2 separate regions of the Homo sapiens genome follow, and region 2 is linked to region 1. Evidence: promoter capture Hi-C in 16 types of primary human blood cells and fetal thymus (Javierre and others, 2016). All regions are on one chromosome and are shown on one strand. Each heading gives the region's core, a stretch centred on a gene start or on the middle of the fragment in contact. The rest is flanking DNA. Distances are from core to core; before and after follow the strand shown.

Region 1 (6,866 bases), core at 1,492-3,991:
CAGAGGTCACAAGATTTGTAACTTCGCCAAGTACTCCTACAGATAACATCACTATTGTGAAACCTAATTAACTGGTCTTTGAGATATTTTTCAAATTTAGCATTTTGGCAGACCAACAGACACAACCTGGACCTGTGAACCCCACTCCTCAGAAATGACTCAGGTTCACGAAGATAGTTCTGACACACCTGTGATTCATCCCTGACCCAACCAATTAGCATTTCCCATTTCCTAGCCTCCTGCCCACCAACCGATCCTTTAAAAACCTAGTCTCTACATTCTTGGAGGTGGATTTGAGAAATATCTCCCATCCTCCTCGTTGGCTGGCCCTGTGATTATTCATCTTTCCCTGCTGCAACATTTGTAGTTCTCAGTGCATTGGTTTTTTGGAAGGCAGCAGGCAATTACACAGGGAAATGTGAAATTACACATTTCCCTGTGTAAAAGAACACAGGGGCAATTACAGCACGAGGGGAAAACTTTTATAAGGGGTTGGTGGAAGCAAGACTAAGAAAATATACTTACTTGATTGGTTAAAGTGGAAAGTCCTTAGTTAGAGGTTTGTCTGTTTCTGTTAGTTAAGCTTAAGTTTCATTTTACTGTTTACATTGAGTTGGGCTCCAGAGCTGGAACTATCTCAACCTAATGGCCTCCAAATTAACATTTTTTAAACAAGGCAAATTCTTCATGTGTGAAATGGGAATAATACTATCTACCTTGCAGGGTTATTGTGAGAACTAAATGAGAGACTGTGAAAATTGGTAAACTGAATACTATACCAAGTTGAAAAACATTTCCTATTATATAGGAGGCAGTAAATTAGATGGTTAAGATTCATGTAAAATAAAGGTCTTGATAATAATAAAATGTAGTCCGGTAGAAAAGACAGACATAAAAGAACATATTAGAATGCAGTAAATACTATATTGACAACAGACAAAACTGCATTGGTTCCCCAGAGGAACTAGAAAAAAACAGAAGATAAACTGGTGTTGAACTATGACAGATGGAGAAAGTGGAATTCTAAGTTTAAAAAAAAAATGCATGTACAAAGAGCATAGAGACATGGAGAGCATACAGCATAATGTGTTCAGGGAATTGTGACAAATTCGAAATGTCTAGAGTAAGAGAGATAACAGAGGGAGATGAATCTAGTAAAACAGATTAGGGAGATTGTGTGAAAGGCCCTATGTAATGCTGTACTATAAGAATGGAAAGCCGGCCAGGCGTGGTGGCTCACGCTTATAATCCAGCACTTTGGAAGGCAGAGGAGGGCAGATTATGAGGTCAAGAGATTGAGACTATCCTGGCCAACATGGTGAAACTCGTTTCTACTAAAAACACAAAATTTAGCTGGGCATGGTGGCGCGCTCCTGTAGTCCCAGCTACTCGGGAGGCTGAGGCAGGAATCGCTTGAACCCGGGAGGCGAGGGTTGCAGTGAGCCGAGATCGCGCCACTGCACTCAGCCTGGCAGCAGAGCGACACTCCGTCTCAAAAAAAAAAAAAAAAAAAAAAAAAAAAAAAAAAAAAAAATAATGGAAAGCCATCACAGGTTGTCAAACAGAGAAAAAACAATTAAGTGTATATTTCAGAAAGATAATTATATTTTAATGTGTAGGATTGGCTGGAGAGAAGGGGTAGAAAGGCCAGAGAAATGTTGAAATAATTTAAGTAGGACTAATTGGTACAGATTTCTAACAGATAGCTAGAAATACAGATCTAGAGTTTGGAGAAGACAATATGGGAATACAGCTCTAGAAATAAGCCAAGTAGTAAATAATCCACCCAGGGAGGGGATATGATAGCAAAGAAGTATCAAAAGTCAGCATTTCAAGAATGATCTCCCAAACCAGGGGAAAAGTGATTCCAAACCTAGAGTAGGAGTTTTAGGAAGGGAGAAGTCAGAAAAGTGTGAATTGGGCTTAGCAATTTAGAAAGGTTTGTGGAAAAGTGTAGTTGGATGCGAGAGAATAGCGGATGGGAAGAAAACAAAGTAAGGAGACAGGTCATGTTTACCCTGGCACTCAATAAGGTCTGATAATGACTAGCAAGTAGCACCACGGGTGGGTGGGCGGCGGGGTTGTTAAAAATACGTATCTCAGCTCTAACTCAGACCTACTGAATCAGAATCTACATTTTAACAAGCCGCCAGAGAAAAGTAGTTATACCTTTAAAAAATTGACTTGGACCACCGTATTTGCTAAATTTGACAACAGAGAGTAGGAGATTCAGATAACTTGAAACGGAGGAATAGTTCAATGATTAATAGTTCCCAATTTGGCCTCAAGCTTTCTCGTTTTAATTGAAAAACAAGGTTAACTTGCAAAAACCTCGAGATTCTCAGGGAAAAGCAGTGAGGATGACCTAACAGTAGACACCAAACAACCTCACTCAGCCATTCCGCCATGCCCAGCGCGAAAGACTCAGGTTTAAAATATCCGGATTCGGCGCGCCGGATGTCCACGCCAGCTGGCGCGGCATTATGGGAATTGTAGTCCCGGCCCGCTTCCCGATTTACCACAAACTGTTGGGCCCGGAGTCGGAAGAGACCCGGGTTTGGGAAGGACCCCAGGGTCAGGCGTCCTGGTGGAAGGGCGGGCCTCTTTCTCTCTTGCTCAGCAGGGAGTCCAGAGCCCTGGAGGAAAGCCAGCTCAGCTCCGCATCGGCGTCGGCGGTTGGGACGCACACACTCTGCGTCATGGAGGGCTGAGGCCGATGATGAATTCCGGAGTGCCTGTCAGGCTTGCTGTGTCACTCGGCCCGCTCGGCGCGCCCCTTCCCAGCCGCCCTTCCGTACCGGCTCTCGGGCTCTTCCGGTCTCCGGCCGCCCCTTACCTGCAGGCTCTTCTCCCGCCGCGGCCCGGCGCTCTCCGAGTCGCCCCTGCGGACTGGTCTCGCACAGTGCCTGGGCACCGGGCGCCAGACAGACACTGGCCATGACGAGCGGCGCAACCAGGTACCGGCTGAGCTGCTCGCTCCGGGGCCACGAGCTGGACGTACGGGGCCTGGTGTGCTGCGCCTATCCGCCGGGAGCCTTTGTGTCCGTGTCCCGAGACCGCACCACCCGCCTCTGGGCCCCAGACAGGTGAGCGCTGGGAGTCGGGTTGCCCCGGCTGTGTTGCACGCTTCCCGGAGAGTGGAAGGAGAGTGACCCTTCCCTGTCAGTCCTGCCGTCTCTCTCTCCCCCCAGCCTTCCCTCTGCTCTCCGCTCCCTTCCAATTCTCAGACTATTAGAACTCTGTAAGAAACCATCGGGATTTAAGTGGAAAGAGCACAGGGTTGGGGGACCAAAGACCTGCCTTGTTGTGCTAACTTGACCACAGACGAGTCTCCTACCTTTTGGGCCTTCAGTTTTTGGACGATGATCTCCCAAGTTTCTTTTAGACTTGAAAATTTACTGATTGCAGTTGCACCCTCCGAAGTGAGGTAGTTTGAAGGCATCTGAAATGTCCTCTTTTTTTTTTTTTTTCGAAGAAGATGCTCTGTAGTCTTCTGTAAAATTTAATTTTTGAAGACTTTAGTTCTCAAAAATTGCACTGGTGAATCCTCTTTTCGTCCAGGTTAGAATTTTAGTCTGTGGTCTGTGCTGGTCCTGAGGGAGTGAAACCTCTCGGATGTTTTGTTTCTGTGCATGTGCTGTTTCTTGAGGAGAAGCAGCATCCATTGCCTTCAAAGGATTTATCAGAAGGGTTCACGAACCAAAAAAAAAAAGAAGAAAAAGGTTAGGAATCAGTCCTGATCGAGTTCACGGGTTCAGCCCTGATTTGGCTGGTTGTAACAGGATATTTAAGACCTAGAAGACAGATTGCAGTTCAGAGAAAGAAAAATTGAGGTTAGTTATTTTGTTATTTAGTAGGTCTCCCACTGCTAGAGATTTTAGAATTTGAGTCACCATCCATAAATTCAGTTGATAACTGTTGAGTGCCTCCTCTTTGTTTGGGATACTGGAGAGGAATAAAGACAGACAAGTTGCCAGTGTTTCTGGAGCTTTCTTACAGTCTGATGGGGAAGATAGATTAAAAAACAAGCCAATAAATAATTAAAAACTGGCATGTGAAGAAAACATACAGTTAATTAGGTGGAGAGATATATTAAAGGAAGCCTCTCTGAGGAGTTGTTTGTTTAAAGTTGACATTTGAAGCATGAGATGGATGGAGCTGGTCGTGGAAGAGCAAATAGGGAGGATTGAATTGGAAGAGCATTCCAGGCAGCTGGAGGAGCAAACAGGAGGGAATTAGCTGTGAGGTGAGGGCAGGTTTTGAGGCTGGCAAGAGCCAGGTTATGGAGTTTGCAGATGGAAGCCTTCAAATAGTTTCAAGCAGGGAGCAACATGATCTGATTTCCGTGTTGAGAAGTTTCTGCTAGCTGATGGTAGAGAATAGATTGAGAAGGGATAAGTGTAGAAGTGGGTTTGCTTGGAGGCTTTTGAAGTAGTATAATCAACACAAGATGGTCCACTAGGCTAGGGATAGTATAGAGCAAATTCCTGTATTGAATTGAATGAGATGATCTCTAAAGATCTAACTCTAAAATTCTATAATATCCAAAACTACTTAGTAATACTAATATGGAACTTTTTGTTTGAGTACAGTTATTAAGTTTTTGCCTTTAAAATTGAATCCAGTAGAAGCATAAGCCCAGTAGAATATAACCATTGCAGTAAGGAGTATAATCAAGGATGCCTGTTTTAATAATGGAATCCTGTCATTAAACTTTTGGGACTGTACTAGTTTGACAAGGGTTTAATCACTGGAGTGGTTGTGCTTACCAGGAACTTGAAGAACTTTGGGCTGAACTGATTCTCTATTTGAAAAGTGATTTTGTTGTTCATTGAACTATTGATTTTTTTTTTTTGAGACAGAGTTTTGCTCTTGTTGCCCAGGCTGGAGTGCAATGGCACAATCTTGGCTCACTGCAACCTCCGCCTCCGGGGTTCAAGCGATTCTCTTGCCTCAGCCTCCCAAGAAGCTGTGATTACAGGCATGTGCCACCATGCCCGGCTAATTTTGTATTTTTAGTAGAGATGGGGTTTCTCCATGTTGGTCAGGCTGGTCTTGAACTCCTGACCTCAGGTGATCTGCCCACCTTGGCCTCCCAGTGTTGGGATTACAGGCGTGAGCCACCACGCCTGGCCGAACTCATGATTTTTTTGTTTTTGTTTTTCAAAATTCATTCCTGTATGTATTTATCTAACACTGATGAAGAACTTGCATTTTGCCACAGTGTGTGTTAGTGCGTAGTGAGATAAGATTATTTAGTCTCTCATATCCTGCTGGTTAGGTTAGCAAGCTTGTCCATCCTGTGGCCCATGGGTGGCTGTAAGAGTGGCCCAACACAAATTTCATAAACTTTCTTAAAACATTATGAGGCTTTTTTTGTGATTTTTTTAAAAATGCTCATCAGCTATTGTAATTATTAGTGTATTTTATGCGTGGCCAAAGACAATTTTTCTTCCAATGTGGCCCAGGAAAGTCAAAAGATTGGATACCCCAGGGTTAGAGTGTTTCATAGTCATTAGGTGATTAAGCTCTTATTGATGCCAACTGAAGTGTCTCAACCATACCTTTAATGTTGTAAAAGTGTCCTCAAATCTGACATATTGACAATTTTTATTTCATGATACATGTCTTCTCTTTTGTGTTGCTGTAGCAGAATACCACAGACTGGGTAATTTGTAAAGAAAAGAAATGTATTTTTCATAGTTCTGGATGCTGGGAAGTCCATTATCAAGGTATCGGCATCTTGAGAGGGCCTCTTTGCTGCTGTATCATCCTATGGTGGAAGGGTAGGAGAGCACACAGCAAGAGGCGCAGAGGGGCCAAACTTGCTTTTGTAACAAAGCCACTCTCTAACCCAGTCCCGCAATAATGACATTAATCTATTCATGGCGGCAGAACCCTCTTGATCTAATCACCTCTTAAAGGTTCTACTTCTCAACATGGTTGCATTGAAGGTTAAGTTTCCAGCACATGAACTTTGGGGGACACGTTCAGGCCATAATAGAATATTTGTGTGATTTTGTTTTTTTGACACAGGGTCTTGCTTTGTTGCCCAGGCTGGAATGCAATGGCATGATCACTGCCTTATTGCAGCCTCGACCTTCTGGGCTCAAACAATCCTCCCACCTCAGCCTCTTAAGTAACTGGGACTACAGGCAAGAACCACTATGCCCAGCTAATTTTTATTTATTTATTTTTGTAGAGATGAGCGTCTTACTAGATTGCCCAGGCTGGTCTCAAACTCCTGGGCTTAAGCAATCCTCCTGCCTCAGCCTTCCAAAGTGTTGGGATTAAAGGTGTGAACCACCACTCCCAGCTCATAACAGCATATTAATAGAGTTAATGAAATGCTATAAATGTTTGGAGTGAAGTCGTAAATGAAATTTGCTTTCCCATGTAGCCAAGTGGTAAATGAAATTTACCACTGTAAATTTGAATCAGTACCACTGATTCAACTTCAAATTCTTTGTTCATTACTGAATTGCCTCTTACTGAATCTGACCTGGTCTGTCTACCTCTGATGCAAATGAATTTACCACTGCTTTCCATGTATGTTGTTGCTAAGGTTCTAGATCAGGGTAGTAAATGTAGGGATGGACTGGGAATAATGGGGAAAGTTAGTTCTAGGGAGGCAGAAATAGTTCTGTTTTAGAGTAGACTAAACCAGGTACCTAGTCTTTCACAAAAGCCCTTTGAAAACCCAGAAAGTCTTTGGACCTTCAGAGTGGAGACATATCTGTTGGTTGGGCATTGAACTGAGCCAGCAACATGCCATTGTTTCAGACTACTTCAGGTCTCTATAAGCTAGCTTCAAGCTAAATTACATTTCCCAAGTCTGTCGTTGACTTCTGGGTGGGGAGAGATGA
Region 2 (6,866 bases), core at 3,023-5,522, 310 kb before region 1:
TTATTTTGCATGTTCTCCAAATACTAGGCATAATTAGTTAATATGTTCATCCCCACTGAGAGAGAATGCTAAACATCACAGCTGTCAAACTTTAGGTTGATGATCAGAGTATGAAATGCAGTTATACAAATATTCTACAGTGACTAGAAAATATTTGTCATCTTCTGCATCTTTAGGACTTCTCCCTTGGGATTATCTTCACTATTAGCTTTTCTCGTTTTGTTTTATTTTTTCACATCCCCTCAATGGAAGGCAATACACTTAGCAGGTAAGAATATGGACTCTGAAGGGGGAAGTCAGGCTTCCTAAAGGCTGTTTTCTCAGTGAAGTGTTATTCAAGGTCTGGATGCTAGATAAGTCATTTAACCCCTCCTACCCTCTGTTTTCTCATTCTGAATATGAGGATAATGATAACTACCCCATCAGGTTGTTGTGAGAATCCATTAAAATAATGTATATAGAGTGCTTGACACAGAGCCTGCCTCATAATCTAATCTCATCATGGATATTCAAATAAGAGTTGCTGTTATCACCATTATTATCACTATCAGAACCAGTCTGAGGTTTATTAATAAAACAAATATTCATGAATGGGTCTAGTGAAAAACGCAGATATACTCTTAATAACTTAATAATAAATGTACAGTTTATTGTGGGAGACTCTTGAAGGGATAAAATCATAAGGAAGACATGGCTCCTATTTCAGGGAGCTATTATGTACTAGAGTAGTTGACTGGTCAAGTTGGTTACAGTCAAGTTGTAACACTAAAACTACAATTGGCTGGCACTGGGCTGACTTTGGAGCTAGGTAGGGGGGAGGGGGCGCCTGTTTAAGCAGCAGCAGCCCTGGTGCAATAAGCAAGCCACTTGCAAATTCTCCCTTGAGTGATCCTGTAGCTTCTCCTGTTACTCTGTAATCACACTGGGTATGTGCTTCCCACAGGATCAAGCATGCAAAGGCAAGTCTCCACATTGGCTCATTTACCTTTTCTCTCCCATCTCATCTGGAATAATCCTACTTCATGTTTTGTTTCGGCACCTAAGAAGCTCTGTTGTCGATGTGGAAAAATATATGGTGTGACTCCCTCAGGTTGACACAGCAGGGTAGAAGAATGTAACTACCAATTTGGCGGAGTGTTGAGTCATAAAGGTAAGTATTTGGTAGTTCTGTTTGGTTTGACAAGCCAGCTGTTCAGAGAAGTGGAATGAAGTATTAAGTTCAATGTTCAGTACAGTCCAATAAAGAAAAAACTACATCAACTCTAAAACCTTTATTGTAGATACCTGCATCTGACCACCACTTGACTTACCCTTGCAGCTCATTGGCTCAAGAACCCTCAGGCTATGACAATTCTTCTTTTTTTAAGACCTTAAGTCAGTCAGCTGCCTCCTGACCTTGCCCTTTCCACATGCCAACATTGCAGTAGTTTTTGTTTGTTTGCTAATTGCTTCAATTCCTTGCAGGTGACCTTGCCTAATACTTTACTGAAAAAACAAAGCCTTTGCGAAATAATGCCCTGCTCTTCCCTCCCAGTAGATTCACCAACATCTGCTCCTTTCTGGAGTCATGATGGAGGAAGCATCCCTGTTCCCGTCACAGTTCCTCTCCATGTGCTCTGTATCCTGTCCTCGTGCACCTACTCAGGGACTCACCAGACTCCCCTTCTCTATAAGATCAGCATGTTCTCGACATACCATTCTGGTATCTCCCATTTGTTTTAGCAAACTAAACCTCCATGGTCCCGGTCTCTTGCTGCATAGCTACTCTCATTTCTCTGCCTGTCCTCCAGCACCTACTCAGGGACTCACCAGACTCTCCTCTATAAGATCAGCATGTTCTCGACATACCATTCTGGTATCTCTCATTTGTTGTAGCAAACTAAACCTCCATGGTCCCAGGTCTCTTGCTGCATAACTACTCTCATTTCTCCGCCTGTTGCATATGCTTCATGCACAACAAAGAGTTGTCTATGCTAGCTGGCTTTACTCTCCACTCACCACTGAAGCTCACATCAGTGACCTCGAGGCTGCTGGATCTAATAGACTTGTTTCTGAGTCACTTGACTTATCTTTTCAGTACTGTCTTACCTTATAGTATTCTCCTCTCTGCTTTTGTAACAACACCCACTTCTGCCTTTCTTCCTCCCTTTCCAGCTACTTCCTTTCAACCTCCTCTGCTGAATATTCTTCCTTACCAGCCTCTAGTGGCAGAAATTCTCAGAGCTTTGGGAGCCTTGTCTCTCCATATCCCCCTTCTCCCTAGATGAACTGATTCTTTCCCATGGCTTTCAACAGCCTCTAACTGCTGTTAGCCCCTAAATGTGTATCTCTAAAGAAACATTTCCCCTGGACTCCCAGCTTTGCTGAATATCCATCTGCCTGCCTATGTGGGTTTCCCTCGGGTACCACAGCATCACCTGCATGAAGATGAGCTTGTGATCCTCTCCCCACCCTGGGATCATCTCCAGCACCCTCAATTCCCTATAGTCCACTTAGGTGTATTTGTTCCCCTGCTTAACCAAGAAACCTGGTGTCATCCTCACTGCCTCCTTTTTGTACACCCTTTCATCTGGACAGTGTGCGAGTCCCACTGTTCTGTGTCAAAAGCATATCCCAAACCTCCTGCTTCTCTGATCTGGCCCCTGCCCCCTCTTCCACCCTTTCCCTTGCTGTCTTTACACCACACTTTCTCCCACCTTTCTGGAGCCTTCTTGCCTGCTGCATCCTCGACTTTTCACATGGCTAATTCCTTCTTAACCTGGAGGTCTCTGCTTAATTGTCACATCCTCAAGGTCTTTTCCTGACCGTACTTTCTAAATAGGGCCTCCCTCTTCTGCAGCACCCTGTCTCTTTCTTCTATAGCAGTTAATTATATTTTGTAATGAGTTAGTAATCTGTCCACCATCTTCAAAAAATAAGCTTCTGGAGGGACTGTCCAACATTTTTTTCTCCCCATGTTCCCCCAGCACTTAGCACAGTTTCTGACACACGCAAGCCATCAGTAAACATTTGGATGGGTGAACAGGTAAATTATTTATGTAGATGTGGACATAACTATGGATAATATTGTAATAAATCCTATAAAAAGGAAATAGAGGGGAACCATGGGAGGAAAAATATATGAATAAATAATGTCATCAAGTAAATCAGACAAGCTCAATCCATCTTTAAAGCATGGAGGGCTTAGTTTGGGAAAGTGGGAGACTGTGAATTCCAAGAAGACGAACAAGGAGGGAAGATGCTGAGGAAGAATAAGTGTAGCAAACAAACCAGTTGGGCTGATGGGACCATACAGGATAATGGGCAGAACAGGGACTTCGGAGCCAGCAGAGCTGAGAGTTGGGGCTGTTCTGCTGCTTGCTTTCCCGGGCACGTTACTTTTACACCCTGAGCTTTTCTTACCATTTTGTAGAAAGGGCTTTGTATGGCAGTTTTTACTAGAAAAACTAGTGCAAAAACTAGTGCAAAAACTCCCTGGAGGCAGAGGGACTTGTTAGGGAGCAATTGGGAGAATATTTCCTAGGGCCAGACAGAAGGGCTCAGGGTAGGTAAGGGTATGGATGAGGTGGATGATAGGAGTAGGGTAAGAAAAGAGATATGAAGTATTGAGATTATTGCTGCGAAGAACGTGCAAGGTGTCTGGCGAAGGATGCAAAAGCCGAAGGCATCAGGACTTTGAAGGTCCAGCCAAGGTTGGAGCCAACATCTGTATTGTGGTCTCAGTCTGCATAACTGGGTGATTTTTCTTGGGTTGGATAAAAATCTGGATACAGGAATGGAGAAGGTGGTAGTTGGAACTAGTCATACAGAAGGTTCTAGCAGAAAGAAAAGGTCAGGGAGTAAGAGTAGATGTTGAGAGGATGATTGAAGTGGTTTGACTGTCAAACCAGTCAATGCAGGATAAAGTAAGGAAGCCAGAGGAGAGCTGATGGGCCAGGGCAAATGATAAAAAGAGGGGAAGAAAGGTGTTCACAACATTAGCAATTATAATTCACCTTCAAGCATGGCCCGTGAGAACTCTGCTTATCGGAATAGATTTTTGTCTATTATGCAATATCTAAAAAAGTAACTGAAGAGAGGTGACTTAAAAATATTTGCACAGTAGAGTCCTTAAAGCTCTTTAAGGGTCAAAGAAAATGCATGTTCATGAGAGTTAGTCACTCTGCCTTGTAAAGCTTGTTTTGATTTTTATTTTTTCGGTTGGTTTACAGTCCTCAGTGGCTTTGAATCTCAATACGGCTGTTGTGGAGGTTTCCTTGGATCGCCCCGGTGTCAGGTCGCCAAGGTAGGACTTGTCACCCAAAGTGCTGCCTGTTTCAGAAACCAAGTTGTAGCCTCCAACACAGGCCTTGGTGATGGATAAGCTTTTGAAAAAATTAACTAATTTTCAGTTGATGACATTTTATGAGCCTAATTGTACTTAGAAAAAACAGTAATTTATTTGACAATGTTTGTTTCAGCTTCATGTTCATGACCACAAAGAAAACCTAAAGGGCTTTGTGAAGACTTTTGTCAAGTTCCCACCTGCTGATGGTAATCACCGTGTGTTTGCAGTAAGTTGTGAGATGGTATGTTGGTTTTATATTTTACTTTACTGTGGTTATTATGACTGAATGATTGTGTAGCAGTCTACCTGGTAGAAGGGTTTCCAGGGCCTTATTCCTTGACGACACAGTGCTGCATTGGTTGTTCACAAATTTTCAGATGAAGCCATTAAAGCTGAGAAGAGTTAGTGAATTGGTTAAGTTCACGCACCTAGAGCGATGGAGCCAGGAACTGTCCTGAGTGTCTTTTTATCGGTCAAATTTCTAAAATATACAAATAGTGGTAATTCTACTCATCAAATTGCTGAAATTATGTGAGTGAAAAATAATCAGCATAAAAGCTTTAATGCTTTTGGCAAAATCATTTCTAGAGACAATAAAATCTTTATAGGGACTTATGTTCCTTTACATAAGAATCAGTGCTAAAAAGTGGGGAAAACAGAATTTGGAATTACAAGACCTGGAAAGTTCTACTAGCTGTGACCTTCTGAGCAAGTCTCTTAGATGCTCTAAGCTGTAAATTATGGAGTCAGTAACAACCCCATAGTGACTATGAAAATCAGATATGCTAAAATATAGGAAAGTGCTTTGTACATGTCAAACATATGAATAGTCATCTTTAATAAAACATAAGATAAGTTTTTATTCCCCATTGTATATTTGGAAAGAAGATTTGTGGCATTTCCTTATACTAAAGATAGAAGACAGTATTCCATTTTCCAGCTTAAGATCTTTTTATTATTGTTATTATACTTTAAATTCTGGGGTACATGTGCAGAACGTGCAGTTTTGTTACAAAGGTATACACGTGCCATGGTGGTTTGCTGCACCCGTCAACCTGTCACTTACATGAGGTATTTCTCCTAATGTTATCCCTCCCCTAGCTCCCCACCCACCAACAGGCCCTGATGTGTGTTTTTCCCCTCCCTGTGTCCATGTGTTCTCATTGTTCATATCCCACTTATGAGTGAGAACATGCGGCGTTTGGTTTTCTGTTCTTGTGATAGTTTCCTGAGAATGATGGTTTCCAGCTTTATCCATGTCCCTGCAAAGGACATGAACTCATCATTTTTTATTCCATGGTGTATATGTGCCACATTTTCTTTATCCAGTCGATCATTGGTGGATATTTGGGTTGGTTCCAAGTCTTCGCTATTGTGAACAGTGCCACAACAAACATAAGTGTGCAAGTGTTTTTATAGTAGAATGATTTATAATCCTTTGGGTATATACCCAGTAATGGGATTGGTGGGTCAAATGGTATTTCTGGTTCTAGATCCTTGAGGAATTGCAATACTGTCTTCCACAATGGTTGAACTAGTTTACACTCCCACCAACAGTGTAAAAGCATTCCTATTTCTCCACATCTTCTCCAGCATCTATTGTTTCCTGACTTTTTAATGATCACCATTCTAAGTGGCGTGAGATGGTATCTCATTGTGGTTTTGATTTGCATTTCTCTAATGACCAGTGATGATGAGCATTTTTTCATATGTCTGTTGGCTGCATAAATGTCCTCTTTTGAGAAGTGTCTGTTCATATCCTTTGCCCATTTTTTGGTGGTTTTTTTTTTCTTGTAAATTTGTTGAAGTCCTTGTAGATTCTGGATATTAGCCCTTTGTCAGATGGATAGATTGCAAAAATTTTCTCCCATTCTGCAGGTTGCCTCTTCATACTGATGATAGTTTATTTTGCTGTGCAGAAGCTCTTTAGTTTAATTAGATCCCAGTTGTCTATTTTCGCTTTTGTTGCCATTGCTTCTGGTGTTTTAGACATGAAGTCTTTGCCCATGCCTATGTCCTCAATGGTATTGCCCAGGTTTTCTTCCAGGATTTTTATAGTCCTAGGTCTTACGTTTAAGTCTTTGATCCATCTCGAGTTGATTTTTGTATAAGGTGTAAGGAAAGGGGTCCAATTTCAGTTTTCTGCATATGGCTAGCCAGTTTTCCCAACACCATTTATTAAATAGGGAATCTTTTCCCCATTGTTTGTGTCAGGTTTGTCAAAGAACAGATGGTTGTAGATGTGTGGTGTTATTCCTGAGACCTCTGTCCTGTTCCATTGGTCTATATATCTGTTTTGGTACCAGTACCATGCTGTTTTGTTACTGTAGCCTTGTAGTATAGTTTGAAGTCAGGTAGCGTGATGCCTCCACCTTTGTTTTCCTTGCCCAGGATTGTCTTGGCTATGCAGGCTCTTTTTTTGGTTCCATATGAACGTTAAAGTAGTTTTTTCCAATTCTGTGAAGAAAGTCAGTGGTAGCTTGATGGGGATAGCATTGAATCTATAAATTACTTTGGACAATATGGCCATTTTCACGAC

What was found. Contacts are between HindIII fragments. The CHiCAGO score rates a contact against its expected background, and 5 or more counts as called.
Region 2: a contact is called between a fragment that was not itself captured here and the fragment with the promoter of PLAA in region 1, in 1 of 17 cell types (megakaryocytes). The highest score is 5.2, in megakaryocytes.

Annotation. Positions count from the first base shown.
Region 1 is chr9:26,943,117-26,949,982 of GRCh38, reverse strand. It overlaps PLAA (phospholipase A2 activating protein), which reads left to right and starts at 2,741. Exons shown (of 14, transcript NM_001031689.3): 1 at 2,741-3,086. The coding sequence starts at 2,938. It also overlaps a transcript of IFT74 not described here. RefSeq lists enhancers at 2,418-2,727, 2,317-2,990, 2,988-3,247, 2,991-3,666. The HindIII fragment of the contact is 3,001 bases long and covers 2,292-5,292 here.
Region 2 is chr9:27,256,114-27,262,979 of GRCh38, reverse strand. It overlaps the pseudogene REXO6P. Among named protein-coding and RNA genes, the nearest start is that of EQTN, 38 kb to the left of the region's middle. The HindIII fragment of the contact is 189 bases long and covers 4,178-4,366 here.